Regions from separate parts of the Homo sapiens genome. Here regions 1, 3, 4, 5 and 6 are each linked to region 2. The links are contacts of gene promoters, found by promoter capture Hi-C in blood cells and fetal thymus (Javierre and others, 2016). All regions are on one chromosome and are shown on one strand. The core of a region is centred on a gene start or on the middle of the fragment in contact, and the rest is flanking DNA. Distances in the headings are between cores, read along the strand shown.

Region 1 (2,700 bases), core at 118-2,617, 360 kb after region 2:
AATGATTCGGAAGTTTTAAAAATGCATCAGCTTGCTGGACAGTGCCCTCAATCCTGGCCCAGACCCATCGTGGAAAAGCTATCATGGTGCAGCCTCTGCATTTTGCATTAGTTGACCTCTTTATGGTAAGGGGCCAAGTCTGAACCCCAGGGAGCTGAGGCCCAGGAATGCTCCTTCTCATTAGAGTTTGGCCTGGAGGTATGGTCCTGAAAACTTTGCAGGTGAGCCCTGTTAGTGGCTCCTCACCCCTTCTTCTCCTCCCTTGAAGGAGGGAGAGCTTCCCCCAACCATGCTGGGAAGGCAAAGCTCTCTTAAGGCAACGACCACTTGCTGAGCACATCTCAGGGCAGAGACAATGAAGAGAAGGCATGAACCACACAGCCAGCTGACATCTCAGGAAGGTGTGGGAGTTTGAAGAATCCCCGCTGTGTGTCATTTACTGGCTACAGGACATTGGGAGAATTACCTAACAGCCCTGGGCCTCAGTTTCCTCAGCTATAAAGTGGGGATAATAATAATAGAACTATCTTCTAAATTTTTTGTGGGGATTAAATGGGGAAATATAAGTAAAATATTTAGAATAGTGCCTGGCACAAAATATGTACCATATTTTGTTTGCTATTAATATTTTATAGTATTATTCATTTATAATATGATAGGTTATGTAGTGTGTTTGGCTATTATAAATATATTGTGTGATTAGTATATTCTCAAGCCAGGCCCAGTCCCCAGCCTTTAGAAACCCACTCCCTGGGGATCTGGTTCAGGGTAGTTACTGGGTCAATCTGTGTATGAACAAACCTCACGCATAATACAGACATCTCGAATTGAGTACCTGCTGAGCCTGGATCTGTGTTGGTAACTTCACATCCATGATCCACAAATGTCTGACATTTATTTTAGAGGTGAAGAAGTTGAATACCAGAGGGTTAAGTGACTTCCGCAGGGCCACACAGCAAGGTTAAAATTAGGTCCCCTGACGCCAAGCCCCTCTCTGTGATCAATGAGTGTTTCCTGATGTCTGCAGTATGCCCTTTGCTGTGGGAGGCACTCTAGGCAGTTATTCCTGAACTGGCTCAAGATTCTGAGTTTGCAAGTCAGGGATTAGGCCTAGGCATCTACCTGTTAGCAGGCCCCTGCAGGAACTTCCAGAGCAGATGGCCTCAATGGCCCAATGGAGACACAATGCTAGAAGGTAGACGAAGGATGGTCTCAGCTCCTGAGGAGTCTTATTACAGAGGTGATCATCAAATTACATGAAAATGCCCAGCAGGTGCTGATTCTGTGCGTGTCTGTGAGGCTCACTCTGAGATGCAGCAGCCTGGTTAAGCGGAGAGGACTGTGGTACTCATGTTGACTCAGCTTAGGGAATTAAGATGCCCTGTGAATGTGGAGAGGTGGGGCAAGGGCAAGGAAGGGGGGACACCGTTTGAGGAAGGTTCAGAGGCATAAAGAACTTGACATGGGACAGGGCTGGTGAGGATTCCCTCTGGGACATTTCCCCCATCTTCCTAGTGAAGACCCATCCTGCAAAATCCGTGGATGGAAAGCAGCGGGCATAACCTCCCAGGGTGGATTACATAACTGGGCTGGGCCTTGGCTGGGGCTGGGCCTCCCTTGCCATCCTTTTCTCCTGGTTCTCAGGTCCTGTGCTCCTCTCATCTACCTCTCTACCTCCTGCTGAGCAGTGATGGTGGAGCAGGGCAACCTGCTCACAACTTCCTGCAGGAGTGGATGATGTGCATGTGTTTTGTGGGGTCTGTTGTAGTCTTATGTCTTTTGCCTGTGAGTGGTTAGGCCAGCTGTGCCCTCACTAGGGGAGCAACAATTGGGACTATGGCAATGGAAGGCAGACCCTGTGGGCTTTTGGAACTTCCTTCTTTTTCACCCATCCTCCTAATTTTGCTTCTGTCCATAACACACAATAGGGCGTTGGACAAGTCAATTCCTCTCTGGGTCCCAGTTTTCTCCTCTAAAATACAGGCTTACGACTAGGTGACCTTGCTTCCTTCTCAAAGTAACATTCAATGACTTTTTTGAACCCAATCTTTGGAACCCCTCTTGGTGTTCTGTTCTTTTGGCTTTGAGAAGGCTTCCTCCTCCTGTATTAGACAGATACTGGAGTAAGAGCCCAGGTTTTCTGGGTACATTTTCCTTTAAACCTCCAGGCAAACTGGAGCTAGTCAAGACATCAGAAAGAGTATCCTGAAGCTCAGGGTTGTGCTTTCAGATCCTACCTCACAAATATTCAGTTGGTATAGGCTCTCTGAGGTCTAAGCTGTCCAAATAAGAAGGATCTGCCTTCTGTGTGGTTGATCCAGTTGCCCATGAAGGAGACTCTGAAAAGAAAAGCCCCTCCACACTCAAGATAATGATTGCCAAGGTTTTGCACTAAAAGCACACATCTGCCTGGGACTTTATGAGTGATGGCTGTGTGTTAGCTGCAGGAGGCAACAGGAGGCAATCTGCCCGAATGGTGGACACCATGGCCAGCCAAGGCTGCCCCATCTCGGTCTTCATCACTTCCCTTCTCAGTTTCTCTCCCCACAAAACTCACCATGAGATGGCTTCTGCGGCAGTGAGGTTTACCATCCAATAGAAAGAAAACCCATGGCAGTTGGCTAACCGACCAAACTTACTCCATTTCCTCTGACAATCGATAGTTATTAATCACCTACATTCTCCAGAAGGCTGTAAACC
Region 2 (2,700 bases), core at 77-2,576:
GTCTGAGACTATATGAGAGGAAAGCAACCCTTCAGGGAACTCTATTGTCTATCGGGGCCTGCACTATCCCCAGGCCAGGTCGTCCTTGATCATTTCTGCCTACTCTTTGTTGGGCAGCCTCTGTTGCTAATAAGGAAAAAGGAGAGAAACCACCTGCTGCTGTCAGAGGCCACAGACCACCCGCTGGCCTTCCTGACTCTACCCTCCAGCCACACGCGGGACCCTGGGCACATAGGTAGCAGGAAGAGCGAAGTAGGGGTGGGTAGCTGTGTGTATCCTGGCGTGGGGTCCTCCTCACTCCCGAAGCCCGAGGGTCCTGGGGAGCTCAGCCTGTGGAATCCAGTTGACAGCTGGCCACTCCTCCCCTCCCCACTGGGGGCTCTTTGGGGAAAAAAACGGCCTGACCGGGGCGCCCCGCCGTCCTCCCAGTGTACCCCACCGCTCTCGGCTGGGGGCGCAGCACCTTGGAGAGAGGCGCCTGGCCCCGCGCCTGGGCTGGGGGCGCTCTACCTTGCGCCCTGGGGGTCAGGGGCGCTTGCCGGGCCGCTGCCGAGGGGCCCTGCCCACCCCTGCCCAGCCCGGAGCCCAGGCGAGCCAGCGCGGCGAGCCTCCTCCCCTCCCGCCTGGGTCGTCCTGAGTCCGCGCCCGCTCCAGTTGCTGCAGCTGCTGCTGCTGGCGGCTGCGGGGAGCGCGGGGCGCGCGCCGAAGAGGCTTGGGCGGCGAGGACGGGGACGAGGAGGAGTCGGAGGCGGCAAGGAGGAAGAGCGAGCGGAGGCCGAGGGGCTCAGCGGCGTGGCGACAGGACTAGGGGGTCCCGAGAACATGGGCTAGCAGGCGGCCACGGGCCGGCGGCCGGACGCGGTGAACCTGCCGCGGCCGGGCGCGCACTGGCGCGGCGAGCCGGAGCCGAGCGCAGCCGGGGGAGGAGGGCTGGCGCAGGGGCGCCCGGGCGGAGGGGGCCGATTATCCATTATTAACGAGTTACCACCTAATAAGCGGAGAGCGGCTCGTTAGCCGCGCGGGAGGCGCTCGGGGAAGGGGGTCACCGGCCGAGCGCAGCGCACACCCGTGGCGCACGGCGGGCGGCGCGGCGCCGAGGACACCCGGGACCGCGCGCGGAGCCGGGGCGGGCCCGGGGGCGGCGCAGACCCCGGGCGCGGGCGGCCCGCGGCGCCCCCTGGCTCTCGGCGCTCGGGGCCAGCGCAGCCCGGGGCGAGCGGGGCGCGGGCCGGGGAGGGGGAGCTGCCCGCGCACTCCATCCCCCTCCCCCCCGGGCGGGCGGCGGCGGCTCGCTGTATATATCTCGGCGCACCCCGCCAGGTCGCGCACAGCGCCCCGAGCCCAGGCGCCTCCCCGCCCCCCTCCCGCGCTCCGCGGCGGCGGCGGCGGCGGCAGCAGTAGCAGCAATATGGCTGTTGATGGGTGTTTGGGGTGGCGCTGGCGGCGGGAGGAGCTCCCCCGAGCCCCTGCGCCGGCTGCCCGTTGCTAGCTATGGCAAATGGTGGCGGCGGCGGCGGCGGCAGCAGCGGCGGCGGCGGCGGCGGCGGAGGCAGCAGTCTTAGAATGAGTAGCAATATCCACGCGAACCATCTCAGCCTAGACGCGTCCTCCTCCTCCTCCTCCTCCTCTTCCTCTTCTTCTTCTTCCTCCTCCTCTTCCTCCTCGTCCTCGGTCCACGAGCCCAAGATGGATGCGCTCATCATCCCGGTGACCATGGAGGTGCCGTGCGACAGCCGGGGCCAACGCATGTGGTGGGCTTTCCTGGCCTCCTCCATGGTGACTTTCTTCGGGGGCCTCTTCATCATCTTGCTCTGGCGGACGCTCAAGTACCTGTGGACCGTGTGCTGCCACTGCGGGGGCAAGACGAAGGTAACGCGCGCCCCGGGCGCCCGCCCTCTGCGCCAGCCCCACCGCTTCTCGGCGTCCCCTGCAGCCCACCTCCTCGCTCCGCGCCGCGCCGTGCCTCCCTCCATCCCCGCCTGCCTTCCCCTCGCCGCCTTCCCTTCCCTCGGCTCTCCCGGTGCTCTCGGATCGGGGCAGCGGGCGGCGCGCCGGGGGTGAGGAGTTGCCCCCAGCCAGTGCGCTCCGGGACGCGGACGCTCAATCCTGTCCTCTTGTTTATTGTAGGGTTGTTGGCGGCTGCGGCTGGGGCCGGGGTCGGGGACTCACAGGCTCGGGTGCCGTGGTGCGGGGTGGGGACAGCCAACTCAGCGGGGACGGAGGAAGCTGGGGGCAGCTGGGTGCGTGTTTTGCACCGCTCACCTGCCGGGGCTCGGCTCCTGGCGGTGGGCGAGAGGGAGCACATCCGCCCATACTTTAGGAACCTGTTGGGGAGATGAGTTCGTGGGGTCAGAAAGAAGGGAAAAATCCTTTGGGCAAGGGAGAGAATAATTTTGCACAAGGGAATCCCGGGGGAGGAGCATGGCCCGAGATAACAGGGGGACTTCGAGGGGCGAGAGAAGTTGGGGAGATCCATCCCACTATTGGGGGTAGCCCACGGGGCTGCCACTTTTGGAATGTGTCGAGGTCGCATATCTGATGTAACCTCCCACTCCGTCCCTTAGGTGCTCTAGTGGAACATACCCCAAGTTCTTCGGCCTCTGTTCCTTTGCCCCCAGGCCACCCACTTTGGGTCCCCGGAAATGCCACCAGCAGCGCGGAGCTGGAGCGGGAGTCCGCCTGAGGCCGCGGTTTTACGCG
Region 3 (2,700 bases), core at 120-2,619, 270 kb after region 2:
ATTAGAAACAAAACTGGTTAATGTCCTACACGGGAGTCAATTAATAAACTTTGAGATTATCTTTTCTCCTGAACAGAAAACATTTGTATTTCTACTAGGCAAAATCCTACACATTAATGTGTAACTTCACATAATCTGGCTATTTAGTTGGTAGCAAATATCAAGTCAACAAAGGTACTTACTTTCCTCTAGGTAATTAAATATTTCTTGGGCAGGCTGTTAAACATTGCTCCACAGATGACCTTGAAAGGACATGACACATTTCCATTCCATTGCTTGACCCCTGCTAATAGAACCAAGTCTTCTCACCCAAGCTGCTCCTCTCTTCCTCTTCCATCTCTCTGCTGCATGCAGGGAGCCTGGTGCCTTGCTTCCATTTTCTCATTGGAAAAATGAGGGCCATAATACTTGCCTTCTCCACCAGACTAATTATGTCCAGTTATGACTTGGGGAACCAGGCAAGCGCATGGAAGAAGATCACACAATCCTGGATCCGGAAGACCTTGGCATCCAAGGGAAAAACAGGTGTGGGCAAACAATTGCACCAACATTTGGCAATGGCTGTGGCAGGCAAGAGCAAAGGACTGCGGCGCCTAGAGAGAGGAGTGACTTGGCTGAGTAAAGGAAGAGAAAAAGATTGAGAGAGGAACACTGAACTGGGATTTCCAAGACCCGTAGATCTGTTGGTGAAAAGGGAGAAGGGCATGGTCAGCCTGGTGAACTGCAGATGTTAAGATATAGGGACTAAAAAGTAAGGCACTTTCCATTTAATGTGCATATGCTGAGCTTTTGTTATGTGGCAGGTTCTGTGTTTAGCCCTGGGGAGTGGCAGCGATGGGAACAATCGTGGGCAAAACAGGAAACAAATTCTAGTCCTTTTGGAGTGATTCCAGGAGGATGGGGGTTTGGGTGGATTTGAGAGGGGAACAAGGGAAGTGGAGTGGAGGCAAAAGAGGCTGGAGAGACTGGTCTTGCACTGAGTGATGATATGGTTGATAGCTCCTGACCAAACAATTAATCTTTGTTCAGAACTTTCCCTTTGGAAAGTCTGTGGCTGCCTTCTGGGGAAGGCAAACAAATGTGAACTCAAGAAGTTTACAATTTAGCTAGGGAAACAGGATGTGCAAACAGGAAGAACCAACTATGTGAAGGTAGGTAAGATAACTGTTGACTCCATGCTTTAAGGAAAGGAGAGCTCTTTGTGGCTTGGGTGGTCAGCAAGAATTTTTTAAGCAGAGATACTCTTGATTGGGTTGGATAAATAAAAGAGCAAGGAGGACATTGTAGGAGGGGAATTGCTCCCAGCAGAGCCTAGAAGCAGAGAGATTTTCCAGGGTTCCCAGGAGAAGAGATTGAATAAGTGCAGTGGGCCATGTGGTGACACATCTTGAGTGTCCAGCTGGAGAACTGGAAGTGCATATCATAACAGGGGTGGAAAACTCAGAGGTTGATAGGGAATGGTGAGGTTGCAATGAGGGGACCGGTGGGGACTTTGACCAGTGGAGCAAGAGTCTTTCCAGATGAAGGGAGCAGCTGCCTCACAGCTCTGGCCAGCTGTGGACATTTGGCCAGTTTGTAATTTGTCAAAAGAAGTCAGAAATCTGCATTGTTGTGAAATCTCCAGATTTTTTACATGTTGTCAATTTAATTAAAATATTAAAATCAGCCCAGGGGTCAAGACTGCTGACCCATGCATGGGGCCTGGGGGGAAACTTGTGGGGCTCCAGCTTGTGGCTTCTCTGTTGGCGGTGCAGCTGTTGAAGATTCCTACACACAGGTGCCACAGGGGAAGATGGCACAGGAAAGGAGTGTGGACCTGGAGAATCAAGTAAGGAGCAGGCAGCAACTGAGGCAGGGCCATATGCAACTGTGGCCAGGGGTCACATATCATACTGAGCAGAGTTCACCTTGCCCGAGAACCACAAACCCAGGACAAATAGAAGGGAAACAAAATAAAGGAAAGGGAGCCAGCGTGTCTCGTTCAGTGTTGGGTAAGTAGTATGAATTTGGTTTGTTTTCCTGGCTGTCTTTAAAGAACGCTGGGCGGTGCTAGCCTGTATTTCTGATGAGAGGAAGGGGATTTAACCTGTGGTTCAAGTGCACTTATTTGGATAGCTCAGAGTCTTCATATGGTGTTGTTGTGCAAAGAGCACTGGACTAGAAGTTGGGAGACCTGGATTACAGGAATGACTGGTGTTAGCTGAGTGCCCCACTGTGTATCAGGTATTTTGTGCACATTTTCAGTAATTCTCCAAACAACCCTGTGAAGTAGAGGGCACTGTGACTCTACTTTTTCAAGGTCAAGGTCACAGAGTTGGTCAATGCAAGGCTGGGATTGGAATGAGACTTCAAAGGCCAAGTCTTTTCCAGTAGACCCCGCTACTGCACTGGCCTATGCTGAGTCTCTCCACATGCTCCATGTTACCTGTTGTGTGAACTTGGATAGGTCATCTACCACAGAGGAGCAAGAGGGGAAACTTCTTCAGGGTTTGCTTGGTCCAGTCTCAACATGCTGTGGTTCTGCAGTTGAGATGCATGTTGAAATGCATTTCATTTGTATGTTGACTTTTTTTATTCTAAAGGTCTTTGGATGTTTAATTTCAAACAAAGAGCTAGAGATTGGAGAGGCATCAATCTCAAACAGGCAGCGGCAGGGGTGTTTAGAATGAACTTGACAGCCCTGCAAGAAAAGATGTGTTC
Region 4 (2,700 bases), core at 3-2,502, 320 kb after region 2:
TACTGACAATATCCTCAGGACTTGGGCTTCTTGGAGCCATGCTTCTGTCAGTGGGAAAAGTGCTTTCATCTTTAGAGAATGTTACCACTAAGCAGAGTTACCTAATCTGATGCTTTCTCCTCTGGGTATGGCAGAAGTCGCTTACTTGAGAATGGATACTGATATGTTATTTTTGGAGCTGTATTTAGGGGATTTATTTGGCACATGTGGTATATATTATAGAATGGCATGTAGGGTGAAGCCACGGACTCCACAAAGAGCCTTCTGTCCATTATGATCTGTTGCATACTGAAAATTTCCACTCTGAGTAATGCATATCTTTACACTAAACATACATCATTCCCAGAAGTTGTTTGATTAAATATAAACATCTTGCCTAGGGAAGGCAAAATATTAAGCTGCTAGAGTACATTTGGAATTTTCTTAGAAAGGCCCTGAAAGAATAGGATACAAGTCAGACATATTTTGATGGGGGATGTGAATGAGGGAGATGAACCACTGAGGACAGAGTCTTGAATGAGCAGAACATTGTAGTGGAGGAGCCGTCAGCTCAACAGCACAGATTCCTGGAGGTGGACAATGACGTAGGTTCCAGGGATAAAAGATTTGGATTTGTTCAGGACAGGCCGTGAGTGCCTGCCTTGGTGTGTTATAAAGATCCTATGTGGTTGGTTTCTTTAACATTCAACACAGGATTCTCGAATATTTTAGAAATGTGCTTGGGTTTTTTTCTGTAACTCCTAGGCTAGAGTTACATCATATCATATTTAGTTCAATGTGTCTGCTGTTCTCAAGTGTGGTGGTGCTGGCAGGTAACAACGAGGAAGAAGTGAGGCAGGGCTCAAATTGGGGAATACATACCTGTGTGCATCCTGGCCCAGGGAGTGGGCTGAAAGGAGGGCAGGAGTGGACTGGCCTGCTCAGGCTCCCACACCTGTGTGGCAAGAAGGGTTTGACCCAGAGAAGCAGAGCACCGAGAGCCACAGAAGCTCCCTCTTCCTTCTTTGAGTGTGCCTAGGGTCTCAGCCTCAGCTTTGGCACCCAGAGCCACATTCCAATTAGGTTCTTAGGGGAGTAGCCCCTTCCTTCCTTGCAGAGAAACCTGCATGAAAGTTTGGGGGACTTCACTTTCTTCTTGAAGACATCTTATGTCCAAATTAATGCTACTATTTCCTGTGTCTCCACTGTTTTGACACTTACCTTTTTCATGCACTTCCCAGAGCATATTTCTTTTGTGCCAGACACTCTTTCCCCAGAATTCTTTCCCCAGAATTCTTCTCCACCATTTTGTTTAGAAAAAATATGTTGATGAGTCTCATGGAGTAAGGGGTAAGACCTCAAGGAAAATGCTCCACCATCAAAAGATGCCATAACTTTCCATCCACAGAGTGTAGATTGTGTTACCTGGAGAATCTTTTGTTTGGTGAGTGCCCACCTTGGTTTAGTGTGAAAGTCTGACTGTAGGTCAGAGCAAAGCAGAATTGTTCTGCTTCGAAGAGGGCAGTATCAGTCAAGTGAGGCCATGCTCTGCTACAGTAACAGACAGCCCCCACAGTGGCATAACACAAGAAAGGTTTATTTCTTGCTCAATACAGTATATATCAGTCATGAAGGTAGGAGGCCAGTAGGAGGGTGGAGGCTGTTCATCAGAGTCACTCAGCAAACCAGATTGATGGAAACTTCCTCTTGGTCTTTGCTTCCAGCACCGTCTTGGCAGGAGGCAGTGGTGAACTGCTCTGGCTAAGAGCTTCCATCCAGAAGTGTCACGCATCATGTGGCTCATGTTACATTGGCTAGAGCAAACCACTCAGCACTCAGCCACACTTAACTTTAGGAAACTAGAAAGTGCAATCCTACAATTGCCCAGAAAGAGGACGTAATAGGAGTATTTGTGAATATCCTTAATGACATCTACAAGGGGTGAAGACTGCTCTAGTGAAAAGGTGAGGCTTTTGGAGGGCGAGTGAAGGACTTGGGCTTCTTGGAGCCACCTTTCTACCTCAAGGAACTCTGTGGGAAAAGGTCAGGGAAGGAAATCCTTGGTTGTGCTTTGGCCTGGAAGGAACTAAGGCAAACTCAAAATCTGTTAGAGCATTTGCCATGAGATATGTGATTTAAATTCCTTTTCTGCCTTACCTGTGAAATCTTCAACAGTCTGTGTTGTTCCTTTTTGCTTGTATCTGGAGCAATGGCATGGGGTGGTGATGGGGTGGGATGAGGGACAAGAGGGAGAAGCTCAAAAAAGTGTAACCTTCAGGATGAAAGTTATTCAGGGCAAAACAAGATGCTGTATACATGGGCCTAGGCACTGGAGAAGCCAGAGACAGCTGACACCTGAGTTAATGTACCTGTTATTTTTCCTCCTAGCTTATAAATTCCTCAAGGTCAAGGATGGTTTCTTATTTATATGTATGTTCTCCGCAGAGCCCAAAACTACTCTGGCCTCAGTAGGTGCTCAATTGCTTGAGGCATGTTTGTGGGTGAATGAATAAACAAATGCACTTCTGCCTCCTTCTCTTGTGTGCCAAGGCTTGCAGCGGGCCAGCAGCCAGGGGAGGATGTGGGGTGGGCCAGCACTCTCTTTGCTCAGAAAAGCAACTTGCCTAGTTCTGCATCCAATCTTGACTTCTAAGCCAAGGAACGAAGTCTCCAACTGCTCTCAGAGTAGGATACAAAAACCTTCCTCAACTCTTCTCACCT
Region 5 (2,700 bases), core at 128-2,627, 450 kb after region 2:
TTCTGTTTGGTAAAACTAAAAACTACACAACTTATTGAACACACATGCCCCGTCCAGTGTAAACATGAGAAGAATCGATATTAGAAAGATAAACTCTTAGGTACACAGCTCTGATAAGATAAGTAAAATGGCAGCATGAAGAAAACCAAAAGAATACAAAGCTTTCAGCTTGGATCCCGTCAGGTTCAGGGCAGTCTTGGGGTGTTGTCCCAAGTTCAGGAGAAAATGTTCTATATAAATATTATTGCTTTCTCAATGATGAATTCATATCATGTCATTCACACTAAATCCATTATTGTTATTAGCTCACAAAATATTTTTCTGTGATCTTAAATTTTATGAATAATAATATCAGTTTCTAATTTGAAGTACATTGCAAAGACTTGCCTCCTTTTAAAATTAGTCTGTCTCATAATATTCTGGCTGGCTAGATGCTTTTATTCCAGTGTAGGCAGTTTATCCAGGATATCCAGAGGTAGCCAGGAAAGCTTCAAATCACTTAGACCTACTCTCTTGGTTATAGATAGATTCCATAAAAATCCATATCCATATGATATCATCTTTTTTATTTATTTTGATTGGATCAAATGGGATGCAAAGCTTATTAATCATCTAGTTCATAATTAAGAGTCTTCAGAGTGTCTAAGTATTATCAGCTTTCATTATCTTCATCCTTGTTCTCCTAGAATAGGAGAGGGTGAGGGAAAATTGGGCCACTTGAAGGGTCATTCATCTTTAATCAGTTGGATAACTAGGAGTTATCCCTCTATAAGCAGAAGAACTTCCCCTCAGCCGATGGGATCAGTCTTCCTGATACCACCACCCCACACGGGGTCCCAGAGAGGACTTCTGGGGATTATTAGTGTCCCACATGACAGTCTCTACAGAGCAGGGTTAGGGTTAGGTACAGGTTGAATACATCTGCTTCCTCTGCATTTTCCTAGACCACCCAACAGACACATCAGTTATTTTCTAGGGCAGTTTGTCCTCCTCTATGAAGGATTTATGAATCAGTCAACCCCCATCATTTTTGCATGAGCCCCAGGCGAGGCTCTGTAGATAGCAGACACTATGTCTTATGCTTCCTCTTCCTCTCCAAGAAGGCTGCACTCCATCTGGAGAGGAAGTGGTATGGCACAAGGCTAGTGGGTCTCTATCCTAACTCTACCACATAGCTGCAGGGTCTTGATTGGATATCTGAGCCTCTGCTTCTCTGTCTGTAAAATGGGGATTATAGTACAATATCTACTTTATTCTGCCATTTTGTGAGGACCAAATGCAATAGCATATGTAAATTTTATACAATTGTCAGGTATTATTACATTGAATTGAAGAATAATTGAATATGAACATAATGAGGCAGTTTAGAATTTTTTTCCTCCCAGTAGCATGGGAATTCAGAGATGGGAGAGGTCAATGAGGGCACAAGTAGTTTGCTGAATCAAGCCTGGAGGTTGGCCTCGAAGACTGCCCAAGGTTTGAACACAAAGAGTAATCAGCAGTTGAAGAGGCCACAGAGAAGGCATAGATTTAAAATTAGGGAATACATGGGTCACATTCATGAAATAATGAAGGCAAGGGTTTGGACTGAAACATAGTAGAAAATAAAGTAAGAGATGTAGAATGAGTTTAGGTTTTAGAAATTCTTCCTAGCCAGGCTTAGAGTTACTATATGAAACAGGCAGGGACCGTGATGGTGGATGAATGACATTTTTAATTAAATTAATTTGGCAACATTGCAGAGGTGAGACTAGGAAAAGAGTCTAGAATCATTAGGCTTATTGCATTGACTCATGTCTGTGGTGCTGTGGGCCTGAACTCTGCCTGTCCATAATCCTGGTGGGAATTGAGAGGGCCCCATTCAATTTAGAAAGGGACTAGCCACAAGAGTGAGGAGAATTTGAACGTTGGAAATTATTTCACAAAATGATATCTTGTTCCTCAGCCAGTCCCGTCCCTAGTAAATCATCTTGGGTGTGTGTTATTGTTGTTGTCATTCTTAAGCTACTTACCATTTCTTTATCCCTTGTAAATGATGGTCTCCGTAACCCCTCCCCATCTGTACTTCATCATTTTTCCTTTTAATCTTAATCTAAAATGTGCTCAGCAGGTACTCTCTGATTGTTAATTGGAACGTCCACTGGTGAAGCTTGCACAGTGGCATTGCAATTGCTTCCCTGTATCTTTTTAATTTTTTCACCCCCTTGTTCGCATCTGAAACAGAAAATGTCTGTTCAACCCCTTGATCCCAGCAATTAGCTAAGTGGTAGGCAGCTGGTTATCTGGGGGCTGGCTCAAACACTGAATCATCTCTGTTCAGGTCTGAATGGGAAGCTTCTCGAGCAGCAACACCTATAATTAGTGTGTAGTTGCAAGAAAGGTTTTTTGGGAGTGGCAGGTCTCAAAGCGGTGTTCCCAGATAAGCAGCATCCCCATTATCTGGGAAACTGTAAGAAATGCAAAATCTAGGGCCCCCACCCCAAACCTACTAAATCAGAAACTGGGGATGGAGCCCAGCAAGATTTTAACAAGCCCTCCAACTGCATGCCAAAGTTTGAGAACCACTACCCTGGAGAAGTAGCTTCACAGGGTTCGGCAGCCAGACTCAGGGAGGTGGGAAAACAGACTGCAGGAAACCCAGGGAAGTTTAGAGGCTGTGAGGAGCGGGTGATCCTTCCCTCTTGGAGATGAGGAAGATGC
Region 6 (2,700 bases), core at 160-2,659, 430 kb after region 2:
TTTTTTAAGTTCCTTATAGATCCTAGTTATTAGACCTTTGTCAGATGCATAGTTTGCGAATATTTTCTCCCATTCTATAGGTTGTCTTTTTACTTTGTTGATAGTTTCTTTTGCTGTGCAAAAGCTCTTTAGTTTAATTAGGTCCCACTTGTCAATTTTTGTTTTTGTTATAGTTGCTTTTAGGAACTTAGTAAAAAATTCTTTGCCAAGGCTGATGTTGAGATGGGTATTTCCTAGGTTTTCTTCAAAGATTTTATAGTTTGAGGTCTTCTATTTAAATCTTTAATCCATTTTGAGTTAATTTTTGTACATGGTGAAAGGTAAGAGTCCAGTTTCATTCTTCTACGTATGGTTAGCCAGTTATACCCACACCATTTATTTAATAGAGAGTCCCTTCCCCACTGCTTGTTTTTGTCAGCCTTGTTGAAAATCAGATGGCTCTAGATGTGCGGCTTTATTTCTGTGTTCTCTGTTCAGTCCCACTGATCTATATGTCTGTTTTTTTTACCAATACCATGCTGTTTTGGTTACTGTAGCCTTATAGTATATTTGAAGTCAGGTAGTTTGATGCCTCCAGCTTTGTTGGTAGTTTGATGCCTCCAGCTTTGTTTTTTTGTTTTTGTTTTTGTTGTTTAGAATTGCTTTGGCCACTCAGGCTCTTTTATGGAGTCATATGAACTTTAGAATAGTTTTTTCTAATTCTGTGAAGAATGTTATTGGTAGTTTGATAGGAATAGTGTTGAATCTGTAAATTGCTTTAGGTAGTATGGCCATTTTAACAATATTCAGTCTTCCTATCCATGAGCATGAAATGTTTTTCCATTTATTTGTGTTGTCTCTGACTTCTTTCAGCAGTGTTTTGTAGTTCTCCACATAGAGATCTTTCACTTCCTTTTTTAGCTGTGCTCCTAGGTATTTTATTTTCTGTGTGGCTATTGTCAATGGGACTGTGTTCTTGATTTGACTCTCAGCATGGATGTTGTTGGTGTGTAGAAATGCTACTGATTTTTGTACATTGATTTTGTATTCTGAAACCTTGCTAAAATCATTGATCAGTTATAACAGCCTTTTATAAGAATCTTTAGGGTTTTCTAAGTAAAGAGTAATATTATCAGTGAAGAGAGGTAGTTTGACTTCTTCTTTTCCTATTTGGTTGCCTTTTCTTTCTTTCTCTTGCCTGGTTGCTCAGGCTAGGACTTGCAATGCCATATTGAATAGGAGTAATGAGAGCGGGAGTCTTTGCTTTGTTCCTCTTCTCAAGGGGAATGCTTGTAGCTTTGCCCATTCAGTATAATGTTGGTTGTGGGTTTGTCATAGATGGTTTTTATTATTTTGAGGTATGTTCCTTTGATGCTTACTCTTTTCAGAGTTTCTATCATGAAGGGATGTTAGATTTAATCAAAATCTTTTTCTGAGGCTATTGAGATGATCATGTGTTTTTGCTTTTAATTCTGTTTATAATGCTAATCGCATTTATTGATTTGCATATACTGAACCAACCTTGCATCCCAGGGATAAAGCCTACTTGGTTTGTGGTGAATTAACTTTTTGATGTGCCACTGGATTTGATTTGCCAGTATTTTATTGAGGATTTTTGCATCTATGTTCATCAGGGATATTGGCCTAATGTTTTTCTTTTTTTGTTGTGTCTCTGCCATCTTCTGGTATAAAGATGATGCTGGCTTCATAGAATGCATCAGGGAGGAGCCCTTCCTCCTCAGTGTTTTGGCATAGTTGCAGTAGGATTGGTACCAGTTCCTTGCACATCTGGTAGAATTTGGTTGTGAACCCATCTGGTCCAGGACTTTTTTTTTTTTTTTTGGTTGGTAGGTTTTTTTTAAATTACTGATTCCATTTCAGAGCTTGTTATTGGTCTGTTCAGGTTTTCACTTTCTTCCTGGTTCAATCTTGGGAGGTTGTGTGTTTCCAGGAATTTATCTATCTCCTCTAGATTTCCTAATTTATGTGCATAGAGGTATTCATAATAGTCTTCGAGAATCTTTTGTAATTCTGTGGGATCAGTTGTAATGTCATCTGTGTCATTTCTGATTGCACTTATTTGAATCTTCTTTTTTTGTTAATCTGGCCAGCTGTCTAGCATTCTTGTATATTCTTTCGAAGAGCCAACTCTTGGTTTCTTTGATATGTTATATGAAAAAAGGTAGTACAATATATTTTAATGTGGAGAACAGAGTCCATGTTAAGGTTCAAATTTATGATTCTCCCTTGGATTAGTTTCCTAAACCCCTTTTGAGTTTGTTATCTGAACCTAGAACTTCAGAGCCAGTACTCTATCATGTTCTGTTCCAGCAAAATTTGCAAGACCAAAAATTAATAGGTGAGAAACCAAGAATTTGGTACATGAATAAATGTCATACTCTATTGTTTTTCTTTTCCATTACCTCAGGTTATTGGGTAGCTTTGATCTGAGGTGCCTATAAGAATTCAATTAGGGCTGTGTCACAGGTGTGACCATTTTTTTTCCTATGAAGACATTGTAGAGGGTGGTCTTTTTCTGGAGAACAGGTTTTCTCTGTTGTAACTCCTAGAGGTAAGAAAAGAACAGTGATAGCTCCCCTAGGCTGAGTTCACTCAGCTGCCTCTGTGCCTGGAGAAAGGACTAACCCAGAGCTTCTAGAGAGGAGAGGCGAAGAGACAGCTCTGTGGAGGCGGGAATGTGCACACATCTGGGAGAGTGGG

The links. Contacts are between HindIII fragments. The CHiCAGO score rates a contact against its expected background, and 5 or more counts as called.
Region 1: a contact is called between a fragment that was not itself captured here and the fragment with the promoter of KCNMA1 in region 2, in 11 of 17 cell types (endothelial precursors, total B cells, naive CD8 T cells and 8 more). The highest score is 13.0, in endothelial precursors.
Region 3: a contact is called between a fragment that was not itself captured here and the fragment with the promoter of KCNMA1 in region 2, in 2 of 17 cell types (endothelial precursors and M0 macrophages). The highest score is 6.2, in endothelial precursors.
Region 4: a fragment that was not itself captured here is called in contact with the fragment with the promoter of KCNMA1 in region 2 in 3 of 17 cell types (total CD8 T cells, M1 macrophages and M0 macrophages); the score reaches 6.4 in total CD8 T cells.
Region 5: a fragment that was not itself captured here is called in contact with the fragment with the promoter of KCNMA1 in region 2 in 17 of 17 cell types (naive CD8 T cells, total CD8 T cells, endothelial precursors and 14 more); the score reaches 29.2 in naive CD8 T cells.
Region 6: a fragment that was not itself captured here is called in contact with the fragment with the promoter of KCNMA1 in region 2 in 11 of 17 cell types (naive CD8 T cells, neutrophils, total CD8 T cells and 8 more); the score reaches 13.9 in naive CD8 T cells.

What each region holds. Positions count from the first base shown.
Region 1 is chr10:77,274,733-77,277,432 of GRCh38, reverse strand. The region is part of intron 2 of KCNMA1 (potassium calcium-activated channel subfamily M alpha 1); the gene reads left to right. Among named protein-coding and RNA genes, the nearest start is that of KCNMA1-AS3, 75 kb to the left of the region's middle. The HindIII fragment of the contact is 6,121 bases long and covers 1-2,700 here.
Region 2 is chr10:77,636,434-77,639,133 of GRCh38, reverse strand. It overlaps KCNMA1 (potassium calcium-activated channel subfamily M alpha 1), which reads left to right and starts at 1,326. Exons shown (of 28, transcript NM_001161352.2): 1 at 1,326-1,869. The coding sequence starts at 1,492. The HindIII fragment of the contact is 4,792 bases long and covers 1-2,700 here.
Region 3 is chr10:77,370,430-77,373,129 of GRCh38, reverse strand. All of the region lies in intron 2 of KCNMA1 (potassium calcium-activated channel subfamily M alpha 1), which reads left to right. It overlaps KCNMA1-AS3 (KCNMA1 antisense RNA 3), which reads right to left. Exons shown (of 6, transcript NR_126365.1): 4 at 183-283. Among named protein-coding and RNA genes, the nearest start is that of KCNMA1-AS3, 21 kb to the right of the region's middle. The HindIII fragment of the contact is 6,218 bases long and covers 1-2,700 here.
Region 4 is chr10:77,318,772-77,321,471 of GRCh38, reverse strand. The region is part of intron 2 of KCNMA1 (potassium calcium-activated channel subfamily M alpha 1); the gene reads left to right. Among named protein-coding and RNA genes, the nearest start is that of KCNMA1-AS3, 31 kb to the left of the region's middle. The HindIII fragment of the contact is 3,327 bases long and covers 1-2,700 here.
Region 5 is chr10:77,188,893-77,191,592 of GRCh38, reverse strand. All of the region lies in intron 3 of KCNMA1 (potassium calcium-activated channel subfamily M alpha 1), which reads left to right. Among named protein-coding and RNA genes, the nearest start is that of KCNMA1-AS2, 49 kb to the right of the region's middle. The HindIII fragment of the contact is 1,549 bases long and covers 603-2,151 here.
Region 6 is chr10:77,209,050-77,211,749 of GRCh38, reverse strand. All of the region lies in intron 3 of KCNMA1 (potassium calcium-activated channel subfamily M alpha 1), which reads left to right. Among named protein-coding and RNA genes, the nearest start is that of KCNMA1-AS2, 70 kb to the right of the region's middle. The HindIII fragment of the contact is 8,406 bases long and covers 1-2,700 here.